Linked DNA regions of Homo sapiens: regions 2 and 3 are each linked to region 1. The links are contacts of gene promoters, found by promoter capture Hi-C in human tissues and cell types (Jung and others, 2019). All regions are on one chromosome and are shown on one strand. Each heading gives the region's core, a stretch centred on a gene start or on the middle of the fragment in contact. The rest is flanking DNA. Distances are from core to core; before and after follow the strand shown. Region 1 holds the start of NUP214 (nucleoporin 214). Region 2 holds the start of SNORD62A (small nucleolar RNA, C/D box 62A). Region 3 overlaps PRRC2B (proline rich coiled-coil 2B).

Region 1 (3,372 bases), core at 373-2,872:
ATATATGTGTGTGTGTGTGTGTATATATATATATATATATATATTTTTTTTTTTTTTTTTTTTTTTTTCTGAGACAGAGTCTCACTCTGTCACCCAGGCTGGAGTGCAGTGGCACAATCTTAGCTCACTGCAACCTCCACCTTTTGTGTTCATGCGATTCTCCTGCCTCAGCCTCCTGTATAGCTGGGAACACAGGCGTCCGCCACCACACCCGGCTAATTGTTGTATTTTTAGCAGAGACGGGGTTTCACCATGTTGGCCAGGCTGGTCTCGAGCTCCTGACCTCAGGTGTTCCACCCACCTCGGCCTCCCAAAGTACTGTGGTTACAGGCGTGAGCCACTGCTCCCAGCCTATTTTTATTTACTTTTTTTTTTTTTTTTTTTTTGAGACGGAGTCTCGCTCTTTCGCCCAGGCCAGACTGCAGTGGCGCTGTCTCTGCTCACTGCAACCTCCGCCTCCCGGGTTCACGCCATTCTCCTGCCTCAGCCTCCCGAGTAGCTGGGACTACAGGTGCCCGCCACCGCGCCCGGCTAATTTTTTGTATTTTTAGTAGAGTCGGGGTTTCACCGTGTTAGCCAGGATGGTCTCCATCTCCTGACCTCGTGATCCGCCCGCCTCGGCCTCGCAAAGTGCTGGGATTACAGGCGTGAGCCACCGCGCCCGGCCTTTTATTTACTTTTTGAGACAGGGCCTGGCTCTGTCACCCAGGCTGGAGTGCAATGGTGCAATCACAGCTCCCTGTAGCCTCAACCTCCTGGGCTCAGGCAATTCTCCCACCTCAGCCTCCCGAGTAGCTGAGACTACATACGCATGCCATCACTGCTGGCTAATTTTTGTGGTTTTGTTTTGTTTTTTATAGAGACGGGGTCTCGCCATGTTGCCGAGGCTGGTCTCAAACTCCTGGTCTCAAGCAATCCTCCTGTCTCCGCCTCCCAAGTGCTGGGATTATAGGCATGAGCCACCCGCGTCTCATCAATTAAATAAATAACCCCTAGGACGACTAAGATGTCTTCAAGATTACATGAGATCCCACATCTGAAGGTTTTTGCAAAGGACTTGGCACAAACTCGTGCGACTAGACATGGATATGGCTCTTGCTCTGGAAAGGATCACCTTGATAGGAGCAAACAAAGCTGGTCTTCGGTGCCCTTTAATCTCCCCTCCCAGCCTTCCACCTTCCACACTTTAAGAGTCGTCCCTGCCGACCCCCCGACCCCGTTTTTCTGAACCTCCCTTCCTCCCCTTGCATAGTCCAAAGCCTCTCTCTAAAGCAGCCCCCCGAAAACATCTGTCAAGTTCCAAACTTATCTGAATCGGAAGCTACCAATAGCCAACCTACATCTAAGGGGAACTGTAAGATTTCAGAAGAACAAGAAGCATAGGTCGCTTAGGCGTGGGCCACCCAAGAAGAGAGACTTAACACTAGGTAAGCCCGCGCTGGCTGCGAAGGCGGGAGCGGCACCAGGACCATCCAGGGCGCAGGCGCAGGGACCTCACGGCCACGCCACTACTCAGCCCGAGCTGGCCAATGGGGAGCGGCGGCCGGAAGAACGCGCGGCTTCGCTAGGTTCCGCGGCTTCCTCTGACCAAGCTTGACGTCACCAAAGCGCGCCGGAAATGCGAGGTCAACTGCGCGCCGCTGGCGCTGAGGGGAGGAAGTTTGCTGTCGAGCGGCCTGGGTTCCGTGGGCAAGGCCGTGGGAGGCAGCGTTGGCTGCTTCGACACACTGAGGGCGGCGCGATGGGAGACGAGATGGATGCCATGATTCCCGAGCGGGAGATGAAGGTCAGAGACTAACCGGGGCCTCCCTCCCTTCTTTAGTCCTGGCGTTGCCTTGGAGCCCAGCTGAAAGGCGAAGCGCGGTGCTGGCTGTCCCGCCTCCTGCTTGAACAGTTTACCGCGTTCACAGCTCTCACCAGCGCGTCTGCCGCGCCGCTGGCGTGATAGCCCCACCGAATGCAGTTTCCCAGTCCCATCCTGGTCTCGTGCACGGCTGTTGAGTTACCCTAGCTACTTCCTGGGGCGGTCACAATAGTGGCAATAACTGCTGTTTATTGAGTGTTGACTGTGTGCCAGGCACTGTGGTAGTCATCGCGGCAGCCCTACGAAGTAGTCGTTAACGTAGAGGAGTAAGTTGAGGCTCGGAAAGTAATTTCCCTAAAGTCACATTTGACGCGGGGCTGAAAGCCAGCATCATTTAAGACCTTTGCTCTCCCAGTACTTCTGTAAGGTGATACGGGCTTGCCTAACGTAGAGTCAGGGAAGGTCATCCATCCTGCAGAACCTTTAGTTGATTGGACTAGGAAGACTATTTTGACCTCGGTATATCAGCCTAAAGTCAGGAACCTAAAGGGAGGGCCAAGTGGTCCCAGTGATAGCAACGTGGGAGTCCCCCAGGGATAACTTCAGGATGGTGTGTTTAATAGTTCTTATATGGGTTCTGACAGAATGAGGGTACAACAGACGGGCTACATCTGTTTTAAATAGTGAAAAGAAGTAAGTTGCAGGAAGATTTTAGGCATCTGTGTGAACAATAAATCACTAAAATGCATTTAGGGCATAGTAATACCATGTTTAGAATAGTGATTTTTTTTTTTTTTTGAGACAGAGTCTTGCTCTGTCACCCAAGCTGGAGTGCAGTGGCATGATCTCGGCTCCCTGCAACCTCCACCTCCCCGGCTCAAGCGATTCTCCTGCTTCAACCTCCCTAGTAGCTGGTATTACAGGCGCCTGCCACCACGCCCCACTAATTTTTTATATCATTTGGTAGAGACTGGGTTTCACGATGTTGGCCAGGCTGGTCTCGAACTCCTGACCTAACGTGATCCGCCCTCCTCTGGCTCCCAAAGTGCTGGGATTATAGGCGTGAGCTACCGTGCTGTCCTAGAATAGTGATTATTTTTTGAGAATCACCACCTGTGGTGAGCCACCTAATGGGGTTGTGTCATATTCCTCAGATATGCTGGGGTAGAAGAAAAAAAGGTTTTATTAATAGAACCACAGACTTAGAAGATGGTAATCTCGCACTCCCTTTGGCAGCACATATAAAATTGGGATCATGCAGAGAAGACTATTATGGCCCCTTTACATGGATGACAGACAAATTCATGAAGTGTTCCATATCAGAAAAAAATGAGGGCCGAGTGTGGTGGCTCATGCCTGTGAGCTTGCACTTTGGGAGGCTGAGGTGGATGGATCACTTGAGGTCCGGAGTTCGAGACTAGCCTGGCCAACATAATGAAACCCTGTGTCTACTAAAAATACAAAAATTAGATGGCCATGGTGGCGGGTGCCTGTAATCCCAGCTACTTGGGAGTCTGAAGCAGGAGAATCGCTTGAACCTGGGAGGCAGAGGTTGCAGTGAGCCAAGA
Region 2 (3,372 bases), core at 633-3,132, 360 kb after region 1:
TGGCTCTCTGCAGACTTGTGTGGAGGAAACTGATGGAGGCAGCCATCTCCAGGAGATCAGTCATGGTCCTGGCTGCCATCAGTTTCATCTGGGTGGTCTTGGGTACATGTGGCCAATACTGAAGATGCATTTGGACAATTCATAGACACGGAGCTGTAGGTGCTTTTGGGAAAAGCCATGGATGGGTTTGGGCAAGTCATAGATACATTTGGACGAGCCTTGAGTGTGTTCAGGAGAGCCATGGATGGGTTTGGGCAAAGCCATCTCTGCACCTGTTTGTGTTCCATGGTTTCCTTTTCCTCCTCTCCAGGCAGGGTTAACACAGAGTATCCCCATCCTGCGGCGGGACCATCACATCCAGAGGGCCATCGGTCTCTCCCCAATGTCCTTCCCCACCGCCGACCTTACTCTGAAGGTAACACCAGCCCTGAGCTGGGTGAGGGCCCACCCAGTACCTTAGCTTACAAAGAGGCAGAAGGGAGGAGTCCCCGAACCCCTAAAGCTTAGATTGGCTCTGTCCACTGCCAGCGTGATAGTAATTTTCATCCCTCCCCCTCCCCTTGCTTCTGAAGATGGAGTCTGCGCGCAAGGCTTGGGAAAACTCCCCCAGTTTGCCGGAGCAGAGCTCTCCAGGCGGCGCTGGCTCAGGCATCCAGCCTCCATCCTCTGTGGGTGCCTCCAGCGGGGTCAACTACAGCTCCTTCGGTGGAGTGTCCATGCCACCCATGCCTGTGGCCTCTGTAGCACCTTCTGCTTCTATGCCAGGTATCTCATCCCCTGAGCAAGGCCTTGGGGTCCTTCTCCATTTATTATCAAGAAAAACGGATTAACAGCCCCGAATGTCACCTCCTGGCCTTGTCTTAAGTAGCATGTAGAAGTAGCAACTTGTTTTTAGGCCCAGTGGTCGTAGCTCCCATGTGCTGCAGGTAATGTGCACGTCCTGCTTCCCCACGCTGGGAAACAGAACTGGGGGATAACAGCGAGGCACTCCTGCCTACTGGTGACAGGAGCGAGCAAAGGCTTGACTTTGAGTCAGACCTGGGTCATGTGCTGGAGCCGTGTCGCCTCGGCTGGTGAGCAGCTCTTGCCGAGCCACAGTGTCCTCTCCTCTCTTACATGAAACTCCGTGGGGTGGCCACACCCGTGAGGCCAGGTCTTACCTGGAAAGGGCTTTGTATCAACAGAGCCCTCAGTCACTGGCAGCTACTTTTGTCCTGATTGCTGCCATCCTTATCGTGTGCCAGTGTCCCCAAGGGGAAGCGTGGGGGTTTTGAGGGCCCAGCTGCCAGTCTCAGTGATGTAATTCCAATAGATCCTTCTGACCCTCCACTGTGGACTCAATAGCAGGGAGATGAAGAGGACAGTGACTGAGAGACCAAGGCAGCCCTGGTTAAAGTAGAATGCCCCTTCGAGTGTCTGGGGTAGTTGGTGAGTGGGAGGTGGGAAGGGTAGGCCAGAGCCCACCTGCCTCCTCCCTCCTCCTAGGTCTGACGCTGCACCCTCCCTACGTTCCCTGAGGTGCGTGCCAGGCGTGTTGTGAGCAGGCGTGTGCTTCCGGCACACAGGGAACCTAGCAGCCTCTGTACACACGCCCTCGTCCCCACTGAGTCCCCTGGGTAGAGCAGACCTGTAGACTGTTTCCCTCAGGGACATTGAGAAGTAGTGAGGCTTGATCCTCTTCTACGTCCCTTTTGCCGCTCTGTTTCCAGGCAGCCACCTCCCGCCCCTGTACCTGGATGGCCATGTGTTTGCAAGTCAGCCCCGGCTGGTTCCTCAAACGATACCTCAGCAGCAGAGTTACCAACAGGTGACAGCAGCTAGCCAGGTGGCCTGGCTGGGGGTGGTGGGGAGGAGCCAGTGCAGGGCGGAATTGGCTTGCTCATCTATTTCTCATTGTCTGTCTGGTTTTCCATCCCCCTCACATGTGGTGACCAGCACCTGGCCCGCCACGGCAGCCAGGAGGCATTTGTTAAGCGAATAATCGAGACAGGGAAGAGGAGTGGAGTTGGCTGCTCCAGACTCTGCTTAGTTTTCCTTTCTCAAAGTTCTCCCTCCTGTGTCCTAGCCGGGGAATTAGCTAAAATGGAATTTTCTTTGGTGATCAGGTATCCTTCTGATGAAGAGAAGAAAGGCCTAAACTCCCAGGCATGGATGCATTAGAAAGAGGTAGTCTTAGAAATGAGCAGGCGTTGGTTATTTATGCAGGACTGGCATACTTTCTGTGCTGCCAAGGGGTGATTTTTGGAAGTCTCCCCTCTAATGCTGGTGCTGGGCCTTTGGGATGGTCTAGCCGCCCCTCAGACCCATGTGCCTCCACAGCCACGACAGTGGACTTCCAGGCAGAATCTGCTCCAAGTGCAGGCTTGCTGATGGAGGATGTGGCCTCTGCTGACCTCTTTTTAAAAACATGTTCTTAACTGCTGTATTGTTTGGTTACCAAGATTTTGGTTCTTGCATAACTGGGTCAGACTGCATGTATCTTTCTTTTTGTGCATTGTTAAATTCAGCGTTATGTTTTTGGAACTCACCTCTGTTGACGTATGTGCTAGGATCCATTTTTGTTGCTGTGTAGAATTCCAGGGTAGGGATATGCTGTGGTTTGGGGTTGCTACCAGTTTTTCATTATAGGCTTTATCCCAATAGCAAGGGAAGCCCAGGAATGACATGCTGGCATTTGAATTTTGGGCAGTGTTCCAGCAGCCATGTGGAGAGGGGCAGGGGAGGTGGGAGGGGAAGAACCACCTGGATGGGCCTTGCGGTTACCTCCCCGACCCCGTTTTCCCGTTCACAGGCCGCCGCTGCCCAGCAGATCCCGATCTCCCTTCACACATCTCTGCAGGCACAAGCTCAGCTTGGACTGAGGGGTGGGCTTCCTGTGTCCCAGTCCCAGGAGATCTTCAGCTCCTTGCAGCCCTTCAGGTGAGCTCATGTACCAGCTTGCGGAGCTGGCAGCTCACAGCCAGGGCCTTGGCCCTGTGTGCAGCCTTCGTCCTGCAGCTGTTTGGTGCTTGTCTGCTTTGGGGCCAGTGGGGCGGGGAGGGGTGGGAGTTTGCTCTGAATCACTCTTCAGTCCGTTGTTAACTGTGCTCTAGGAGAGGCCTGGGGCGAGCTGATATGTGGTGGGCCGTGTTTTGCTTTTCCATGTCATCTTGCCTCCTTTCCTTGCTCCTTCCTCCTCCTCTCCCCTTGACTCCCTGTCTCCTCCCCACCGCGGGCTTCTCCGTCAGTGTGGCTGCCAGTCATTGTGGCTGATGTCCTGTGCCTCGTACAGCCTGGATGTCTTCACTTGTTTAATCCAGCAGCATCAGCGCCATCTAGGAGCTTGTTCTCAGGCCCCATCCTGGACCCTCTGAGTCGCGCTCTGGGGGTGGG
Region 3 (3,372 bases), core at 301-2,800, 310 kb after region 1:
CTCAGAGTGAGAGGAATTAACAGCAGGTGGGGGTTGGGGGGGTACTCCACAGATCGCCTCGGGGTGTCTACATAAATGCCCTGTAAATGTGAATGAACAGCCTGTGGGTGGTGAGAGCAGTTTTCTAAGGACAGTCCAAAGCCATCTTCAGATCTTCAAGGAGATCCATGATTCGTGAAGGATTCACTCCTCTGGATCAGAGGTTCTGCTGTAGTGACACTCTTTTTTTTTTTTCTCTCTCTTTTTTTTTTTTTCTTCTCTATTTCAAAGGCAGATCGGGAGCGGTGCCGAGAAAAATTTCCTTACTAGATGACATTTCATCGCAATGTCCGATCGTTTGGGGCAAATTACCAAGGGCAAGGATGGGAAAAGCAAGTACTCGACTCTCAGCCTGTTTGATAAGTATAAAGGAAAATCAGTAGACGCGATTAGATCCTCAGGTAAGGCCCAGGGTTGAAGGCCAGTTCCTCAAACTTTCTCCGAGTGACATATCCCAGAAACCCAGAGTCCCTCACCTGGTTAGACAGATGTGGTCCGTGCACACCAGGCTTCTGGGTGTGCATGTAGAATCACTCTCTACTTCCTACTTGAGGTATGATTTCAGAGCCTTGAGCATCCTGACTCTTTCTGTAGTGGAATTTTCTCCATCTATTACCTTATTGAAGCTGGGGAGATATATCTATAGATATCTATAGATAGATAGATAGATATCTATCTATAGATATCTATAGGTGTGTGTGTATGTGTGTGTGTGTGTGTGTGTGTGTGTGTGTGTGTATATATATGTTTTGGAGACAGAGTCTCACTCTGTCACCCAGGCTGGAGTTCAGTGGCATGATCTCAGCTCATTGCAACCTCCACCTTCTGGGCTCAAGCGAGTCTCTTGCCTCAGCCTCCCGAGTAGCAAGGATTACAGATGTGTGCCACCACGCCCAGCTAATTTTTGTATTTTTAGTAGAGATGGGGTTTCCCCATGTTAGTGAGGCTGGTCTCAAACTCGTGACCTCAGGTGATCCACCCGCCTCGGCCTCCCAAAGTGCTGGGATTACAGGTGTGAGCCACTGTGCCTGGCCAAAGCTGTGGATTTTTATCCTGATGGGTAGAATGGGACTTAATAGGCATTAGTGTTATCCTTTTTTTTTTTTTTTGAGACACAGTTTCGCTCTTATTGCCCATGCTGGAGTGCAATGGCGTGATCTCAGCTCAGTGCAACCTTCACCTCCTAGGTTCAAGTGATTCTCCTGCCTCAGCCTCCTGAGTAGCTGGGATTACAGGCATGTGCCACCACGCCCGGCTAATTTTGCTTTTTGTTTTTTGTTTTTCTTTTTTGAGACGGAGTCTCACTCTGTCATGCAGGGTGGAGTGCAGTGGTGTGATCTTGGCTCACTGTAAGCTCTGCCTCCCGGGTTCACGCCATTCTCCTGCCTCAGCCTCCCAAGTAGCTGGGACGACAGGCGCCCACCATCATGCCTGGCTAATTTTTTGTATTTTTAGTAGAGACGGGGTTTCACCGTGTTAGCCAGATCGGTCTTGATCTCCTGACCTCGTGATCGGCTTGCCTCGGCCTCCCAAAGTGCTGGGATTACAGGCGTGAGCCACCGTGCCCAGCCTAATTTTGTATTTTTAATAGAGATGGGGTTTCTCCATGTTGGTCAGGCTGGTCTCGAACTCCCGACCTTAGGTGATCCACCCACCTCGGCCTCCCAGGGTGCTGGGATTACAGGCATGAGCCACTGCGCCTGGCCAGTGTTATCCTTAATAAAGAATTTTTTTTTTTTTTTGAGACGGAGTCTCACTCTGTTGCTCAGGCTGGATGGAGTGCAGTGGCGCAATCTCGGCTCACTGCAAGCTCCACCTCCTGGGTTCACGCCATTCTTCCGCCTCAGCCTCCTGAGTGGCTGGGACTACAGGCGCCCGCCATCACTCCCGGCTAATTTTTTGTATTTTTAGTAGAGACAGGGTTTCACCGTGTTAGCGAGGATGGTCTCGATCTCCTGACCTCGTGATCCGCCCGCCTCGGCCTCCCAAAGTGCTGAGATTACAGGCATGAGCCACCGCGCCCGGCCATCCTTAAAGAATTTTTTAAATTTTGTTTTAAAATTTATTTATTTATTTAGAGACTGGGTTATGAGACTGGCTAATTTTTGTATTTTTAGTAGAGACAGGGTTTTGTCACATTGCCCAGGCTGGTCTCGAACTCCTGGGCTCAAGCGATCTACCCACCTCGGCCTCCCAAAGTGCTGCAATTACACGTGTGAGCCACCACGCCTGGTGTGTTATCAGCCTTTTTAGCTTTCATGGTTCTTGATATTCTAGAACTTGTTGGAAAGGTTCTTGTTGATCCTTTTCACACCCCATGAAGACTTCATGAATGTCGAAGGGCTCCTGTTCAGTCTTGTTTTGGATCTAGGCAGAGGCTGTCCCTTTAGTCCTGTAATGAGACCAGAGCTGTCTCAACTTGCAGAGAGGTGGTTCCTCTGTAAGCTGGAGGTTCCTGGGCCTGTCTCCTCACCCATGTTGTAAAGTCTGCGAGCCTTGTCCTGCCCATCAGTGAAATGGAAGCCTTTTTACAGGTTTTAGCAGCTCCTTTGTCCCTGTAGTCTTCAGTGAAGAGCTTGTAAAGTGACTAAAGTGACACCAAACACTTGTTTGTCCCACTGCTGGTCTGCCCTTTGTTTTTTGTTGGGTTAGCTTTGTTATGATCACTTAGAGATTGAAAGAACAGCTGAATGCATCAGGCTTCTTTCCTTCTGTGACCTTTTTGCATGGTGTCTGTTCCATGTCCCTCTCCCTGCAGTTATTCCTAGACATGGCTTACAGAGTCTTGGGAAAGTTGCTGCAGCCCGGCGCATGCCACCGCCTGCAAACCTGCCAAGCTTGAAGTCTGAAAACAAAGGAAACGACCCCAACATCGTGATAGTACCCAAGGACGGGACGGGATGGGCAAACAAGCAGGATCAGCAAGACCCAAAGAGGTAAACGGAGGAGGCGGGTGGTGAGTGGGAGCTGGCGCTCCAAGGGTGGTCCCGGCATCCTTCCCTGTGGCAAACTAACCCTAACCCTTTGGCTACTGCAGCGCTAGTCTTGCAGTGGCAGAATTGGAACACTGGGAGATGCAAATGAAGCTGCTTCCTCTCTGGCCCTGGTGCTTCGTATGTTTCTTTTTCCCTGCCTTCATTTTTTCTGGCTTTTAGAGCCGATGGAGCAGCACATCTGTGGACAACCTTGTCCCCAGTGACCACTTTCCCCCTGTGCCTTATTAGGAAAGGCCTCATCACCCCAGAGGAGCTTATGCAATGACTCAGAGCCAATTCCTGTAAGAAACACTGTGGACAGAGCTGGGGCTTGAGGACTTCATTCCTGGTGATGGGT

Evidence for each region. The method cuts DNA at HindIII sites, captures the fragments that hold promoters and counts their contacts. A contact is called where the count stands out against the background at its distance.
Region 2: a contact is called between a fragment that was not itself captured here and the fragment with the promoter of NUP214 in region 1, in 2 of the 25 tissues and cell types used here (dorsolateral prefrontal cortex and spleen).
Region 3: a contact is called between a fragment that was not itself captured here and the fragment with the promoter of NUP214 in region 1, in 1 of the 25 tissues and cell types used here (heart left ventricle).

Annotation. Positions count from the first base shown.
Region 1 is chr9:131,123,964-131,127,335 of GRCh38, forward strand. NUP214 (nucleoporin 214) reads left to right here and starts at 1,623. Exons shown (of 36, transcript NM_005085.4): 1 at 1,623-1,786. The coding sequence starts at 1,742. It also overlaps the pseudogene RNU6-881P. RefSeq lists an enhancer at 1,522-1,821. The HindIII fragment of the contact is 5,493 bases long and covers 1-3,372 here.
Region 2 is chr9:131,484,376-131,487,747 of GRCh38, forward strand. PRRC2B (proline rich coiled-coil 2B) reads left to right here. Exons shown (of 32, transcript NM_013318.4): 24 at 311-415; 25 at 573-765; 26 at 1,710-1,807; 27 at 2,792-2,919. It overlaps SNORD62A (small nucleolar RNA, C/D box 62A), which reads left to right and starts at 1,290; the gene lies at 1,290-1,375. The HindIII fragment of the contact is 7,477 bases long and covers 1-3,372 here.
Region 3 is chr9:131,429,820-131,433,191 of GRCh38, forward strand. PRRC2B (proline rich coiled-coil 2B) reads left to right here. Exons shown (of 32, transcript NM_013318.4): 2 at 275-440; 3 at 2,798-2,975. The coding sequence starts at 326. Among named protein-coding and RNA genes, the nearest start is that of PRRC2B, 37 kb to the left of the region's middle. The HindIII fragment of the contact is 4,521 bases long and covers 1-3,372 here.